Regions from separate parts of the Homo sapiens genome. Here region 2 is linked to region 1. The links are contacts of gene promoters, found by promoter capture Hi-C in blood cells and fetal thymus (Javierre and others, 2016). All regions are on one chromosome and are shown on one strand. The core of a region is centred on a gene start or on the middle of the fragment in contact, and the rest is flanking DNA. Distances in the headings are between cores, read along the strand shown. Region 1 holds the start of C21orf91 (chromosome 21 open reading frame 91). Region 2 holds the start of LINC01549 (long intergenic non-protein coding RNA 1549).

Region 1 (7,542 bases), core at 3,159-5,658:
AAAGCATATCACCTGTGGCTTGGAAGTACATAAAATGTAGGCTCCTCTTTCTTTTTCATTATTGTAAAGTCAGAGAAAAAGCCAACTTAGAGCCATGCCCACAGTACAAAATCTGTTCAACAAGATTAGATTGTCTTTTGTTATTTCTTCCTTCCTTTGTCTTCATTTTATAAACGTATGCATGCACACAGCTTTTAAACAAGAGGCTAATTGATTAGGAAACCAGTGTTGATTTGATGTAAGCAACAATCCAAAAAGTAGAAAATATTATTATTGTTTACTACAAATGTATGGACTCAAAACTAGCTTAACTGTTATTATTCCTCAAGAGAATTTATTTTTACTCAGCCTCTTCTCGGAGAAGAGTGCTTTAGACCAAAGCTAGCAATTATAAAGCTAAGAAATCAGGCAACTGCAATACTACCAAACTACAAAAAATTTACACTAAACTAGTAAAGTTAAATGTCATTTTTAAAAAGCCCCTCTTACATTCTAGTCTATTGACAGGCATTGTGTTGGGAACTTGGTAGAGGAAAGAAAACTTCAAAAATATTTTAAAAGATTTACCGACAACAAATATACCTTGTTATTTTTCTAGTATGTAATTATTATTATGACTTTTTTCCCCCACTGATTTCTAAAGACCCGTATACTGATATAAAAACTAAAATTTTGTGCAATTCAAGATCCTCATTTCCCTCCTCTTTTCTAAAATAATTTTTTTTTTTTTGAGACAGAGTTTTGCTCTTGATGCCCAGGATGGAGTGCGATGGCACAATCTCAGCTCACTGCAACCTCCACCTCCTGGGTTCAAGCGATTCTCTTGCCTCAGCCTCCTGAGTAGCTGAGATTACAGGCATGTGCCACCATGCCTGGTTAATTTTGTATTTTTAGTAGAGACGGGGTTTCTCCATGTTGGTCAGGCTGGTACCGAACTCCCAACCTCAGGTGATCCGCCTGCCTTGGCCTCCCAAAATGTTGGGATTACAGGCATGAGCTACTGTGCCGGCCTACAAAAATCTTAAACAAAAAAGTTGTAATACACTAGCTGATCACTGTAGTGAAAATGAAAATGCGTATTTGTGAGAGCTGAGAAATGACACCAGATAGAGAAGAAATTATTTGACTCTAATTTTTCTTACAAAGATTAAATTGGGATTTTAATATATAAAACCTTGAATATACATAGAATATTAAACGAAATAGTTCTAATTCAAATTGAGAATTGTCTTTTACACTGAAGGGAACTATGATTTCAAAAACAAAGGACTTATTCCATGCTTACATGCTGAGATATTATCAGAGCTGAAATGTTAAGAGATGGTACCTAAGGTAATATTTGTATATTCTCTATATAATGACTGAGAACCAGTTAAAAGGCTTATTTTAAAAAGCTAGAAAAGCAATTACGAAAATTTAGGGTTCTGTGGAAAAATTCGATCATGGCATGAACTCCATTAATGATGATTTGCCAGCAAACACTGGTTAGAAAAAGCTGGCTGAGAGAATAGCAAGGATAACCAATTAGGATTAGAACATCAGCCCTATTGCTATAAAATAACTATTGACAGTAGATCAATGGTATTAAGATCACATATACTAGAACCAGACTGCCAGGCTTTAAAGTCCAGGACCAACAGTTATGAGCTGTGTGACTTCAAACTGTATTTCTTAGGTCGCCAAGGTTCAGTTCTATCACATTTAAAATAGAAAATGACAGTAGTCATTCCAAAGCTATCTTGAGTTAAATAAGATAATCCACATAAGGGGTTTAGCACAGTGCCTGGCACATAACAACAGCTTGCCATCACCACTACAGCAACCCTGGGCAGTCCAACTTTTTGGCTGTTTCCTTAAATGTAAAATACAGGGTTTGGACTAGATAATTTCTAATGTCTTTACTCATCTAAAATTAAAATTCTACAATGTATCAACAATATACAAGCCAACTCTATTTCCAAAGAACATAAATTTGGATTTTCACCCCAGCATGATTTAAGTACTGTAAAAGAAACTTATTTTTAAGATATCCTTTTATTTTTATTTAATTTTTTAGAGATGGGGTCTTGCTATGTTGCCCAAACTGGACTTGAACTCCTAGGCTCAAGCAATCCTCTCACCTTAACCTCTGGAGTAGCTGAGATTGTAGGAACACACCACTGTTCCTGTTATGTCATCTTTTGAAATTAGCTATAATCACTACATTTATTAAAGCTGAAGTTATAGATATTCTATGTAATCCACAAGAAATCCATAATCTTCCATCACATACTGTTTGGTGACCATAATAATTTCTGAATAACAAGTCCTAACAGGAATTTCAAGGTATATAATCCCCCACTATATTTTTTTAAACAATAAGAACATTTCATACCCCATACTTAGTAAACAGAAAATAAAGATCATGAAAAATTTCAAATATATAATACAGAAAAAAGGAAAGAACTATTTTGAAACTGTCCAAAATCTAGAGGTTTAATAAAGTCTCTCTACTGATATGTTACAACTCAAAACTCAAATTACAGGCCAAATTTTTTTTGCAGGAATATTAAGGTTTTTTTTAGTATGACTCATAAATATCTAAACCAAAAATCAATTGTAATATGACAACACTAACTGCACCAACCCAAATAAATCCTTCCAATAGGGCTTTTTTTTGGGGTTTCTTTTTGGATTTGGAGAATTTTTCTTCATATATCTTAGGGACATTATTAAAAAAATTTTAAAAACCTTTTCAGGTTTTAAAAATTACCAACAGTGTGTGTGATCACTGAAAAGAGGTTAATCTAAAAATTTTAAAGTATTTTTCCAGATAATAAGATCATACTGGTGAGAAAAGAGTTCGGGCTCATCTCACTCAAATACTTGCATAATAGGCTCGAAAGAATAAAAAAATTGTTATGTTACTTCTTAATATAAAAAACACACAGGTCTGTTAAAATCTGACAATTCAATAAGCTCTCAAACCAGAAAACACGTTTCCCAGTCAACACTCATACTTATTTCTGTATTAGGAAAAATGGGGTTGTTGCAGGGGTCTTTAAAAAAAAAAGATTTCTCTTAAATTCGTAACTCTGTTAACTGCACCTTCATTTCCAGAAACCTTATCTTTAACAAATCTCTACACTATTCATACTTAGCACAATTTCCAATCATTGAAGACATTTTAGTTTTACCTTACAATCAGTACAAAGCAGCTGTGTTAAATTCATTCCATAAGATCAAAACTATACTGTGTCCTTACCCTCAATATTTAGCTCAAAACAAATGTGGCAGAAGGAGAGTGTTTCTTTGTCTGTTCCCAGTTTACAAACACTGCAAATGTTGTCATCATTCAAATCAATGTTTACAAACTGCTCCTCTTCGTTCATAGTGCCCCTATTAAGAAACAGAAAAGGAAAGTTACACAATTTCATGAACCTGCCTTTGGGGTAGTTCCCTTTACTGGGAACTTCTAGGAAATAAGGATGCTGTTCAGCTCATTTAAAGCAAAAGCTCCATCAAACAAGCATCGCCATACTTGCACTCCAACATTGCACTTTTCCTGTGGAAAGACACAAAGCTAGTAAAACTTAAAGCCAGGCCATAGGTGACACTATGTCCGTGTCTTTTTTGTCCTATAGTTGATTGGGTTAGTGGCACCTGAAGGAAAGAGATTTGCCGGCATTCTAGTCCTCCTCCTTCGTCCCCCAACCTCGAATAATCAGAGGGCTTAGCAGCGAGGCCTTTTCAGCTACCAGGTTCTGTCAACCTAGTTAACGCTGTGAGAAACAGGAAAAACGACCTGCACGGGACACTGCTTTGCTAACTTCATTGGGGGAACCTCAGATGCGCCTCGCGAACTCGGAGTTGCGAAGCTTCGCATCGAACGGAGATCGGCGGCAGCAAAATGCACGTGGGTACCGAATACCCGGGGAGGGCGTCCCGCCGTGTCCGGGGCAACTACACCGAAGGCCGAGCGGCGGCTTCACGGTACCGGCCGGGCACCGCCGGAGGGGCCCAAGCCGGAGCTGGGAGAGCCGCGGCATCCTGGAGCCCGGCGGGCGGGAGAGCCTCGTCCCATCGCTCCGGGATTCCTCCCAGAGGGAAGAAAGCGTCCGAGGGCCACGGCGGCCGGTCCGCCCAGCCTCAGCGTCTCGGGGAGCCGGGTCCTGGCCCGGCCTTCGGCGTTGGGGGCGCGCGGCCGCCCCCAGGGAGTCGCGGACCCAAGTCCGTCTTTCCGTCGGTCTGTCCGTCGGGGCGCCTGGCGCGCAGCAGCGCGAGGGGCCACGGGGCTCGGAACTCGAAGGAGGCGGAACGATGGGACTGGGGGTCGGGGCTCAGGTGGGATGGGAGCAGGGCTGCGGGGTCTTTACCGTCCGGCTCCGCGGGCCACCACCGCCGTTCCGTGCGGCTCGGGTTCCTCCACTATTGTTTCCGGCCGCAGCAGAGGCGGCCGCCGCGCGCCTGGCCCCGCCCTCTCCCGCCGGCTCCATCCCGTAAAGGCTGCGGGGAGGGTGGCGCGGCCGCGGGCACACCTGCGCGCTCGCCGGGCTGCTGTGGGTCCGCCCCTCCGCTCCTGCACCGACGCCGCACCTTCGCCTCGAGTTCTCCTGTGATCCCGTGTTTCCTGGCCGGAGTTTCTTACCGTTCTCTGGAACGTAGCTCCTCACACACCCCTCCTCGAGGTGCGTAGATAGACGAATCCGTTCCACCTCTCCCTTCAGCCTAGTGCAAACTACTGCCCCGGGGCGGGGGCCGCAGGCGGCGGGGGTAGGAAAGCCGCGGGTGGATGGCAGAACGGGAGAGGTGCGTGGGTGGCACTTTGACTTCAGGAGAAAGAAGCAGAATACTGTCACTGAACTTATAGTTAAGTGCCAGTTGAAGTATCTAACGAAGGAAAAGTTCATATTCAGGTGTCATGATAGAGGCATAATTTCAAATACAGAATCTTTTCAAATACATTATTTGTTGTGGGGCGCCCCTGCCCCCAATATGGTACATCCCTCAACGCCCACGGGAAAAATCCCGAAGCCCCACCTCTTATTTTTAGGTCCTGCTTGGTTCTCAAATTCTTTGCTTGACTTTTGTTTAAGCTATTCTGTTTTTTTTAGGGTATGGTTCTTGCAGTACTTTCACTTACATTTTCCATTGTAGTCCTCACAGTAACCTACAGAGGAGAAACAGGAACTGTTCTCTCATGTTGCAGCCTACGAGTAATTGACCCAGGTTATCACAGTTGGTTAGAAAAAGGCTGGGACTTGAACCGAAGGCTACTGACCTAAGATCAATGTTATTTTCTACAGCATCATATGTATGTGTTCTGGTTGCACTCACATAGAAAGAGGGCTAGCCTGTCAATCTACATGTAGGCATTCTTGAACTGATGGTTAGGAATGGACTGTCTAGATCTTGGAAACTTCTGGGCCAAATTAGCACTCCAGTTATGGCATTTGTGCCTCGCAGGAGCGATCTGTGTCCTTGCCACCTAAATTGTAGTAGATGAACAAACAACATTGACATTACTTGGTTTCCTGTTAGAAATGTAGAATCTCAGGCCCCACTCGAGATTTCCTAAATCAATACTTGCACTTTAACAAGACCGCCAGGAGATTCCTATGTTCATCGAAGTTTGAGATGCACTAATTGAAATGAAAAGCCTGTGCTTTTTCTCTTCGAATTTCTCATTCTAGGTAACTACGACTAAGATACCTTGCATGTTGGATTCTACCCATCTTTTCAATAAAAAGCATTCTTTTAAAAAGGACTCTTTTAAAGTGATTCAATAAAAGTGTTCTAAAATCACTAAAATTTAAAAATTGAAACAAGTTATTTTCACTTCTCAGAATTGTCTTCCTTCCTATGGCATTTCACATTGTTTACTTGCTATTCTTAAAACTCTTCTCTCTTGTTGTTGGCTTTTTAAAAAAAATCAAGGAATAATTTACAGAAATAAAATGCTTCCATTTTAAAAGCATTATTTGATGAGTTTTGGCAAATACATACACTTGAGTAACCACCACCCCAGTGAGGATACAGAACATTTCCACAGCCCCGACATTTCTTTCTGTTCCTTTCTGGTCAAGCTCCTTCAACATGGGATCTAATTTATATGACGAAGTGTTTTAGTTTTGTCTGTTATAGGAATTCATATACATAGAATTAAGCAGTGTGTGTTCATTTGTGATTGGCTATTGTCATGCAGCATGTTTTTGAGATTCACGATGGTATTTTGTAACAGTGGTTTCTTTTCACTGCTCGTCTTAGTCAGTTTGTGTTCCTATAAAGGAATACCCAAGGCTGGATAATTTATATAGAAAACAGGTTTATTTGGCTCATGGTTCTGGAGGCTGTACAAGAAGCATGGTGCCAGCATCTGTTTCTGGTGATGGCCTCAGGCTGATTCCATTCATGATAGGAGGCAAAGGAGAGCCAGTATGTGCAGAGATCATGTGGCCTGAGAGTGAGCAAGAGAGAGAGGGGAGGAAATTCCAAGCTTGCTCTCTCTTTATTTATTTTTTATTTTTTATTTTATTTTATTTAAAAACGAGTTCCACTGGGAATTAAGAGTGGGAATTGATTCACACCCTAGAGAATGGCACCAAGCCATTCATCAGGGATCCATAACTAAGCTCCAACCCCTTGCTCTCCACTCCCCAACCAAGCTTCACCTCCAACGCTGGGGATCAGTGGGGCATGGGGGCTCATACCTGTAATCTTAGCACTTTGGGAGGCTGTGGTGGGCTGATCGTTTGTGTCTAGGTGTTCGAGACCAGCCTGGGCAACATCGTGAAACCCCATCTCTACCAAAAAACCCCACAAAAATTAGCCAGGCAGGGTGGTGCATGCCTGTAGTCCCATCTACTCAGAAGGCTGAGGTGGGAGACTGGCTTGAGTCCTAGAGGTGGATGTTGTGTGAGCTGAGATTGTGCCACTTCACTCCAGCCTGGGTGACAGAGTAAGACTCTGTCTCAAAAAAAAAAAAAAAGAGAAAAAGATGTCCACACGCTAATTCTTGGATATTTTGAATATGTATGTAACATAGCAAAAGAGACTTTGTAGATATAATTAAGGTTATAAACTTTAAAATAGGTTTTCCTGGATTATTGCGCTGAGCCCAATCTAATCACATGAACCCTTATAACCAGAGATCTTTCTCCAAGTAAGCTCAGAGAAATGTAGCAAAGAGAAAGTCAAAGTGATTAGAAGCATGAGAGGGACTTGACCCACCATTGCTCTAGGAGCAAACACTGGTCTCCAGCTGGTAGCCAGCAAGGAAATGGGAGCTACAGTCTTTAAACTGCAAGGAACAGAATTCAGCCAACAGCCTGCATAGATTGAGAAGCTCATTTGAACAATCTTCCAACACTTTGATTTCAGCCTTATGAGATTCTAAATAGAGGAGTCAACTGAATCATGCTGTACTGGAATTTTTACCTACAGAACTGTGAGATAATAAATGGGTGTTGTTTCAAGCCATTAAACTTGTGTTAGTTATGCCAGCATTACAAAGATTGAATGTCGAAATTTTTAAAGAAGGTTGAGATTTATTTTGGGAAGATG
Region 2 (7,922 bases), core at 4,733-7,232, 380 kb before region 1:
TGAGCTAAATTGTGCCTCCTTTCCCCCATCCCCCATCCCCCGCCCCAAATTCATATGTTGAAGCCCTAACTCCAAGTACCTTAAAATGTGACTGTCATTGGAGGTAAGGTCATGAAAGAGGTAATTAAGTTAAAATGAGGCCATTAAGGTGGGCCCTAATTCAGTCTGACTGGTGTCCTTATAAGAAAAGGAAATTTGCACACACTGAGAGACCCCAGTATGCCTGCATAGAGAAAAGACCATGTGAAGAGGCAGCAAGCGAGCCAAGGAAAGAGGCCTCAGAAGAAACCAACCTGCCGGGACTTCAATCTTGGACCTTCAGCCTCCAGAACTGCGAGGAATACATTTCTGTTATTTAAGACACCCAGTCTTGCCGGGCGCGGTGGCTCACGCCTCTAATCCCAGCACTTTGGGAGGCCGAGGTAGGCGGATCACCTGAGGTCAGGAGTTTGAGACCAGCCTGACCCACATGGAGAAACCCCATCTCTACTAAAAATACAAAATTAGCCGGACTTGGTGGCGCATGCCTGTAATCCCAGCTACTTGGGAAGGCTGAGGCAGGAGAATCGCTTGAACCTGGGAGGTGCAGGTTGCGGTGAGCCAAGATTGTGCCATTGCACTCCAGCCTGGGCAAGAGCAAAACTCTGTCTCAAAAAAAAAAAAAAAGACACCCAGTCTGTGATACTTTATTACAGCAGCCCTAGCAAACTAATAGTCACTTACCCTCATCAAGGAAGGATATAGCATGTTTCTACCGGATGAATAATTAAGTAAATGAATAAATGAATGATCATGGTGCTATACTGCTAGGGAAACAACATGAACATTTTGCTCTATAACATGCCATTCATTAAAATACATTTTAATTCAGCTTGACTGAGAGAGAAGAATGCTAGCATGACCTAGCTTAGATATGTGTAGTAATCAAAAAGAACACAAGAGTCTGTGAGTTATTTCAGTTTTGCTAAACACAAAATGACATTGTCCTGGATGCCTCTGTAGCCGAGTCAAGAAATCTGAAATGATGAAACAGCAGAATTCGGAATTTCAGGCTAAGTGGCTGCATGAATTTCCAAGAGTGATGAGGTTCTGGAATGAACCATTAAAATTTCATCAAAAGTAGGCCACAGCTGGAGGTCAGAGGAAAAGATTACATGAGGTTATACAATCCTAAAAGAACAATATTTCATCTTTGGTTTTTAGTGAACCAATTATTTCCATGGTTATAAGGAAGCTTCCTATATTTCTAAATAAAGCACCTTAAACACAAAATACCCAAAATCGAATTCATGTTTTTTCTCTTGGAATTTTCTCTCTCTTTAGAGAGGAATCGTTTTAGTTGCCAATACCATTATCCTCCTAGTCACCCAAACTGGAATTTCGTTTCTGTATAGAACTGAGGACAAAACTTTCTCTGCCATCTCTTTCCATGGAAGAGTATCCTGAGTTTCTAGGTAATTCATGTTAAAGTTGTTACCATTTGCAACTATGTATCTGTGTAAAAATTATCTTGCCACTATACAAGAAAAAAAACTCAGATGTAAAAGAATTGCAATGCTGAGGCTAGTATAAGATACAATTGCCATCCATAATCTCTGTATCAAATTTGCATTCAAACATCATAATGTTCATTGCTTTAATTTATAAAATAAATTTATCCTAATTAAATTTCCTTTTAATCTAAACCTAATTTCTATATTAAAAAGAATATCTTTTGGCCAGGCGCAGTGGCTCACGCCTGTAATCCCAGCACTTTGGGAGGCTGAGGCAGGCGGATCACGAGGTCAGGAGATCGCGACCATCCTGGCTAACACAGTGAAACCCTGTCTCTACTAAAAATACAAAAAAAAATTAGCTGGGCGTGGTGACGGGCACCTGTAGTCCCAGCTACTCGGGAGGCTGAGGCAGGAGAATGGCGTGAACCCGGGAGGCGGAGCTTGCAGTGAGCCGAGATGGAGCCACTGCCCTCCAGCCTGGGCGACAGACAGAGACTTTGTCACAAAAAAAAAAAAAAAAGAAAAGAAAAGAAAAGAAAATCTTTTAATGTTGGAATCCCATGTAAATTTTTTTTTCTTTTTTTTTTGAGATGGAGTTTCACTCTTGTTGCCCAGGCTGGAGTTCAATGGCACAATCTCCACTCACTGCAACCTCCACCTCCCAGGTTCAAGTGATTGTCGTGCCTCAGCCTCCCAAGTAGCTGGGATTACAGGTGCATGCCACCACACCCTGCTAAATTTTTTGTATTGTTAGTAGAGACAGGGTTTCACCATGTTGGCCAGGCTGGTCTTGAACTCCTGACCTCAGGTGATCTGCCCACCTCGGCCTCCCAAAGTGCTGGGATTACAGGCATAAACCACCACACCCAGCCGGAATGCCATATAAAATTTAATTTGGGAAAAATGTCTGCTGCTATAATTATGTGGAAAAAAAGTCATTTATCTCTAGAATAAAAAGCAAGATCACAAGACAATAGAATGACTCTACTTGCCTCTTCAGCCCATCCCTTGCTACTCAGTCACATCACACATAGTCTCTGGAAAATCATCTTTTTTCTCATTCCATTCCTCCTTCTGCCATCCTCTGTCTACAGTATCCCTTCGCCTGCACTTTAGGCCCACAAACCCTTGAAGATTCAATTCAGATCTCACCAAAAAGTATTTTCTGGCCCACCAAGCCCTGGCCAGAAGTACCTCTTTCAAACATCTCTTACGTTAAACAGCATTATGGAACACTATTGTTTTGGACTGAGCTTCTGCACTAGGCCCCAAGGGACCAGACCAGACCAAAATGGAGTCACTTGTGCTAAATGCCACTTCATCAAAATGAAACTTTAAGGAAGTCGATAGATCTCAAAACAGATCAGTTTTTCCTGAAAACTGGAGATTGCAGTCTGAGTCAGCTATAATAAGGACACTTCCGTTTGCTTAAACTCATATAAAAAAGTAACCTGAAGTAACCTAATGTTTACCAGTCAAGCTTTTTTTTTTTCTATTGTTCTGTTTCCTTGTTCCCACCTTGTAAAACCCACTGTTCAGCAGTTGCTCGTGAGAGCTTTCAGTACATTTTATGGAATGAAGGCTGCCCTGATTTATAAATCCCAAATAAATGCCCATCTTTGATCTATAACTAAATTTGTTGTAATTTTGTCTTTTGACACTTAAAATAACATATGTTTTCAATTTTTATATTTACATTTCCCACTAAAGTGAGTGTCTGGAGGAGAGATTGTGCTAGAGATAGCCTAGCACATGGTGGACATGCAGAAATATTGGAAGGAAGGAAGGAAGGAAGGAAGGGAGGGAGGGAGGGAGGGAGGGAGGGAAAGAGGGAGGAGAGGAAAGAGAAAAAGAGAAAGAAAGGGAGGGAAGGAGGAAGACAATTTCATATTAAAGGGCTCGTAAATGAGGCAAGTTTTGCTGTCATGGCATAATTCGAAGGAAATATTAGCTGAGCTATATCTCAAAATTATGTTTAATATCCAGCTTTCAGCAAACTGAATTTCCCACCATAAGATATTCTTTACTGGGGCAGGGGAGGGAGGCCAAGAATTAGTACTCTGAAAGCAACCATTTAAGATGGAATACTCCTCTGTATCTAAAATATGACAGATGTCTCCAAGTCTTCAGACCGGGTTAACCAGAGGAGAGAAGGGCCTGGGAAGAAAAGACAAAAAAGTAGGCAGTGAGACCCATTTCATTCCAGTTTCCCAGAGATGGTGGGAGAGAAAGGACAGAACAGTACAGACTCATCAGGAACAATTCAGTGCCCAGTTACGACATGTTTAAACACTGCCTTTTTTGTGTTTTTTCGGCAATCCTGAGATGGGAGGGTGCCACACATTTCTTCATTTGGAGAAACTGAGCTCCTAAAAGATTAGATAGAAGTAAAACTGGTAACAGCAGCCAAACTTTTCAATAGTCGTCTCTCTCCTAGAGCAATGCTCTGTGGAAGGGAGAGAAAACTATGTTGCCTCCCTAATGATAATGTGCTGATTCTGTTTGTTTAACTAAAGCTGCACCAGATTAGCAGACCATAATTACAGCTAAAATCCTTGTCTCTGATACAGTTGACAGAATGTCTGTTTCACTGAGCTGAACTCCCAGGAAAGGCTTTACTCAAGGTTAAGCCAGGCTGCCTGAAAGCAATAGTGCTGTTTCAGTGCTACACTGGATACTTTATCTGAGCAGCGGGATTTCCTACACTTGGGTTTCACATGGTTTACTTTGATTTCTTGGGGCGATAAGGACGTTTGCTCCTCTTTGAAAGGTTGTGTTAGTGGCCATACCATTGTAAAACCTTAAGAACTTTCTTTTGTGTCTGGATATGAAGATATCTGCCTTTTTCTTGATATACAACTTTACTAGGACTTCTTTTAGGGAAATCCCCCCTCCATCCCCCAGTTCTTTCCTTGCCTTTCAGCTTTGCAGAACGCAATGAAGTCTGTCATTAATAATCTTTCCTTGACCAGGCGCAGTGGCTCACAACTGTAATCCCAGCACTTTGGGAGGCCAAGACGTGTGGATCACCTGAGGTCAGGAGTTTGAGACCAGCCTGGCCAACATGGCGAAACCCCTTCTCAACTACAAAAACAAAAATTAGCCCGGCGTGGTGGCGGGTAGCTGGAATCCCAGCTACCCAGGAGGCTGAGGCAGAAGAATCGCTTGAACCCGGGAGGCGAAGATTGCAGTGAGCCGAGATCCGGCCACTGCACTCCACCCTAGATGACAAGGGTGAAACTCCATCTCAAAATAATAGTAATAATAAATCTTTCCTTTATCTAGTCAACTTTGAATGTTATGCTTAATTCCTTGAGACCTAGAAATGGAATTCACTGTGTTTGTTTGATCACTGGTGGTTTTCTATAGTGGATCGAGGAATGTTCTCACCTCTTGCCAGAATCTTTTAAATAGTCCTGCTCTCTTCTCTGTCAGGTCGCTTCTCTATTCACTCTCATCTACTTTGTGAATCATAAGGCAAATTGTCAATGAATTTGACTAAAATTTCAAGAAATAAATCAAGGTGAGAAAAGTAAGCTGACAACAGAGTTGAGAATAAAAGGGGAAGTATTTGACTGGGTCTGTTTTGCTTCCCCGCCCAAAACCATCCCAGACGTTCCTTAAATAGAGCCCACAGTTTGTGGGCTTTCTAATGAATAGTGGCCAAGAGGCAGCCTCACATTTGAGGCATGCTATTACCATTTTTTCTTCATTCCCTCTCCTTAATTAGGGTCTTTAAAGGGAGGCTGCCCTCAGATTCTGACAAACAGTATTAGCTTCCTCATAATGCAATGCCTGATCCTGGAGCTATTTTTCAGGATGGTTTGCACTGAGTCTGTGACATTGTCTATATTTCTAGAATGCAGGAGGAATACCTCAACAGAGAATTAGCTGTGGAGGTTCTAAAAAGCCTATTCCTGAAGGCCTGAAGAACTGATTTTAATAACCCATAATAATACGGGAGGGAGATAGAGTTGACTAATTTTCAGTTTCACAGTTTGGCTAATGCCTACAGTAAGATGTATTTTACCTGTACCAAACACACACACACCAAAAAATTCATGAAACAATATTTATCCCTTTTCCATGCAATTCCTTCTATTTTCCATTCTAATTTATTTCAGTTTCTAAATGCAAACCTCCACCCACTGAATTGATTCTCTCACACTAAAGAGTGGCAACCCACTGTTTGAAAAGCACTCAATGGGATGCCCTTTATTTTTCTAACCCTGTAATTCAATATAGAGAGACTCTGAATTGAGGACAAGCCTGATGAGTTTGAGGTATGGAATAAAGGAATCTGATCGGCTCCGGGTTTGTTGTGTTTTTAAATCTTCCTGTGTGTTCATTCTCTTCACCACAGAGAGGACTCTATTATCTTTGCTCAAAGAGCAGACAGTGCTCTAGCTGTTTTCCCCTGCTTAGCTTTGATCCCTGCAGCCATGCTCAGCCCTTCCCCCAAGCCCTCCCTTCCAGATGGATTGAGGCTGTTGAGACTCCAGGGGTGTTCGGGGCTGGGAGCCTGCTGAGTGTTCCCTGTTCCCACCTCCAATCTGCTCCATCCTCCAGCTGCATTTCATTCCGGATCTACCAGGTTAATGGGATTATCGTTCTTCTCTGTTATTCTGTTATTTCATATAGGGTGAATCAGTTTGTTCCTGGGACAATTTTTAGATGGTTGCTGAGATGACAAAAATGGATGGGGATTTTATTTTAGGAATAAGTGTTCTTCATCAGCCAGGATTTAATCTGGGAAGAATTTATTCACTCTCAAATGGGTTACTTTTTGAAGTGACTTAAAAATAAGATTTTTTTGGCTGGGTGTGGTGGCTCACACCTGTAATCCAGCACTTTTGGAATCTGAGGCAGAAGGATTGCTTGAGCCCAGGAATTCAAAACCAGCCTGGGCAACATATTGAGACCCAGTCTCTATTATTTAAAAAAAAAAAATTTAAATAAGATTGTTTTATCAGATAAAAGCAAAGCATACCTTAAGGCACAACTCATGTTTTAATGCCTATATCATCATCGAATCAACCATACAACATTTTAGCTTCAAATTTTAATTTTGGTTAGAAAGATAAAGTGATAGACTGATTATATCATTTATTTTATTCATTATATTCAACAACATTTGCTCAGTACTTATTGGATACAGAGCACATTTATTGACCTCAAGATATCTAGACCTTTAGAAGGGAGTTTTTTTTAAATGCCTACAGATAGCCATTATATAAAATAAGATTTTAATAAGTGACTATACACAGTATAGTTCATAGCCTAATCATAGTATCTCCTCCTTTTCAGAACTTGTAAGAGTGAAAAGAGAAATTACTCATTCCTAGTGTATCTGTTTTTTCAGGACATGAGATTGCCAAATTTCTGTATTCTTCATTTTAATTAAATGCATGATTGATTGACTGAATGGATGCTGACTGTCTATTTGGTGCCATGTGCTATAAATGTGATGAAATGATCTTCCTATTGATCTTTCTTTGGTTTCTTGATGTTTGTCTCAAAAGAATTGACTTCCCAATACCTGGAACGCATGAGGGTGGAGAGAGACTGAAAAATGGAAAGAAAGAGGCATGAAATAAGGCTACTGGGGACTCGGGTTTTTCCTTCCTCTCTGATTGTCCAAATCCAATAGAAATATAAAGTGAGGCTGGGTGCGGTGGCTCATGCCTGTAATCCCAGCAGTTTGGGAGGCCAAGGTGGGTGGATCACCTGAGGTCAGGAGTTTGAGACCAGCTTGGCCAACATGGTGAAACCCCATCTCTACTAAAAATGCAAAAAATTAGCCAGGAGTGGTGGAACACACTTGTAATCCCAGCTACTCGGGAGGCTAAGGCAGGAGAATCGCTTGATCCTGGGAGACAGAGGTTGCAGTGAGCCGAGATCACACCACTGCACTCCAGCCTGGGCAATAGAGCAAGACTCCATCTTGGAAAAAAAAAAAGACATATAAAGTGATATAAAATATAAAATTTTAAACTATAGTAGCTACAATTGAAAAAGTCAAAAGAAACATAAAATTTATTTTTAACAACATATCTTGTACAATCTAATATATCTAAAATATTATCTTTACAATGTGAAATCAACATAAAAAACATTAGTGAGATATTTTACATTCTTTCAGGTATTTTTGGACTATTATCTTCAAAACCTGGCATGTATTCTTCACTAACAGCACATCTCAATTTTGATTAACCATATTTCTTGAGTTCAGTAACCACAAATCACTAGTGGCTGTCATATTGAACAACATAGCCTAGATAAAGAAGCAAAAGTCAAGGAAAATCTAGATAGTTAATAAATTTCTTTAATATTTAGAGGAAGGGACTCTTACTTCATGGGGTAGGAGGAAACCTGAAAACCAGTTTTCTCTTTCTGCTGATGGAGAAATGGGAGTTGCCAACTCAA

The links. The method cuts DNA at HindIII sites, captures the fragments that hold promoters and counts their contacts. A CHiCAGO score of 5 or more calls a contact.
Region 2: a contact is called between the fragment with the promoter of LINC01549 here and the fragment with the promoter of C21orf91 in region 1, in 2 of 17 cell types (M0 macrophages and M1 macrophages). The highest score is 7.2, in M0 macrophages.

Annotation. Positions count from the first base shown.
Region 1 is chr21:17,814,948-17,822,489 of GRCh38, forward strand. C21orf91 (chromosome 21 open reading frame 91) reads right to left here and starts at 4,409. Exons shown (of 5, transcript NM_001100420.2): 1 at 4,356-4,409; 2 at 3,245-3,378. The coding sequence starts at 3,371. The region is part of intron 2 of LOC124900465 (a long non-coding RNA gene); the gene reads left to right. RefSeq lists a silencer at 4,024-4,803 and an enhancer at 5,054-5,103. The HindIII fragment of the contact is 2,618 bases long and covers 3,856-6,473 here.
Region 2 is chr21:17,432,908-17,440,829 of GRCh38, forward strand. It overlaps LINC01549 (long intergenic non-protein coding RNA 1549), which reads left to right and starts at 5,983. Exons shown (of 4, transcript NR_037586.1): 1 at 5,983-6,090. RefSeq lists an enhancer at 5,612-6,195. The HindIII fragment of the contact is 14,439 bases long and covers 2,975-7,922 here.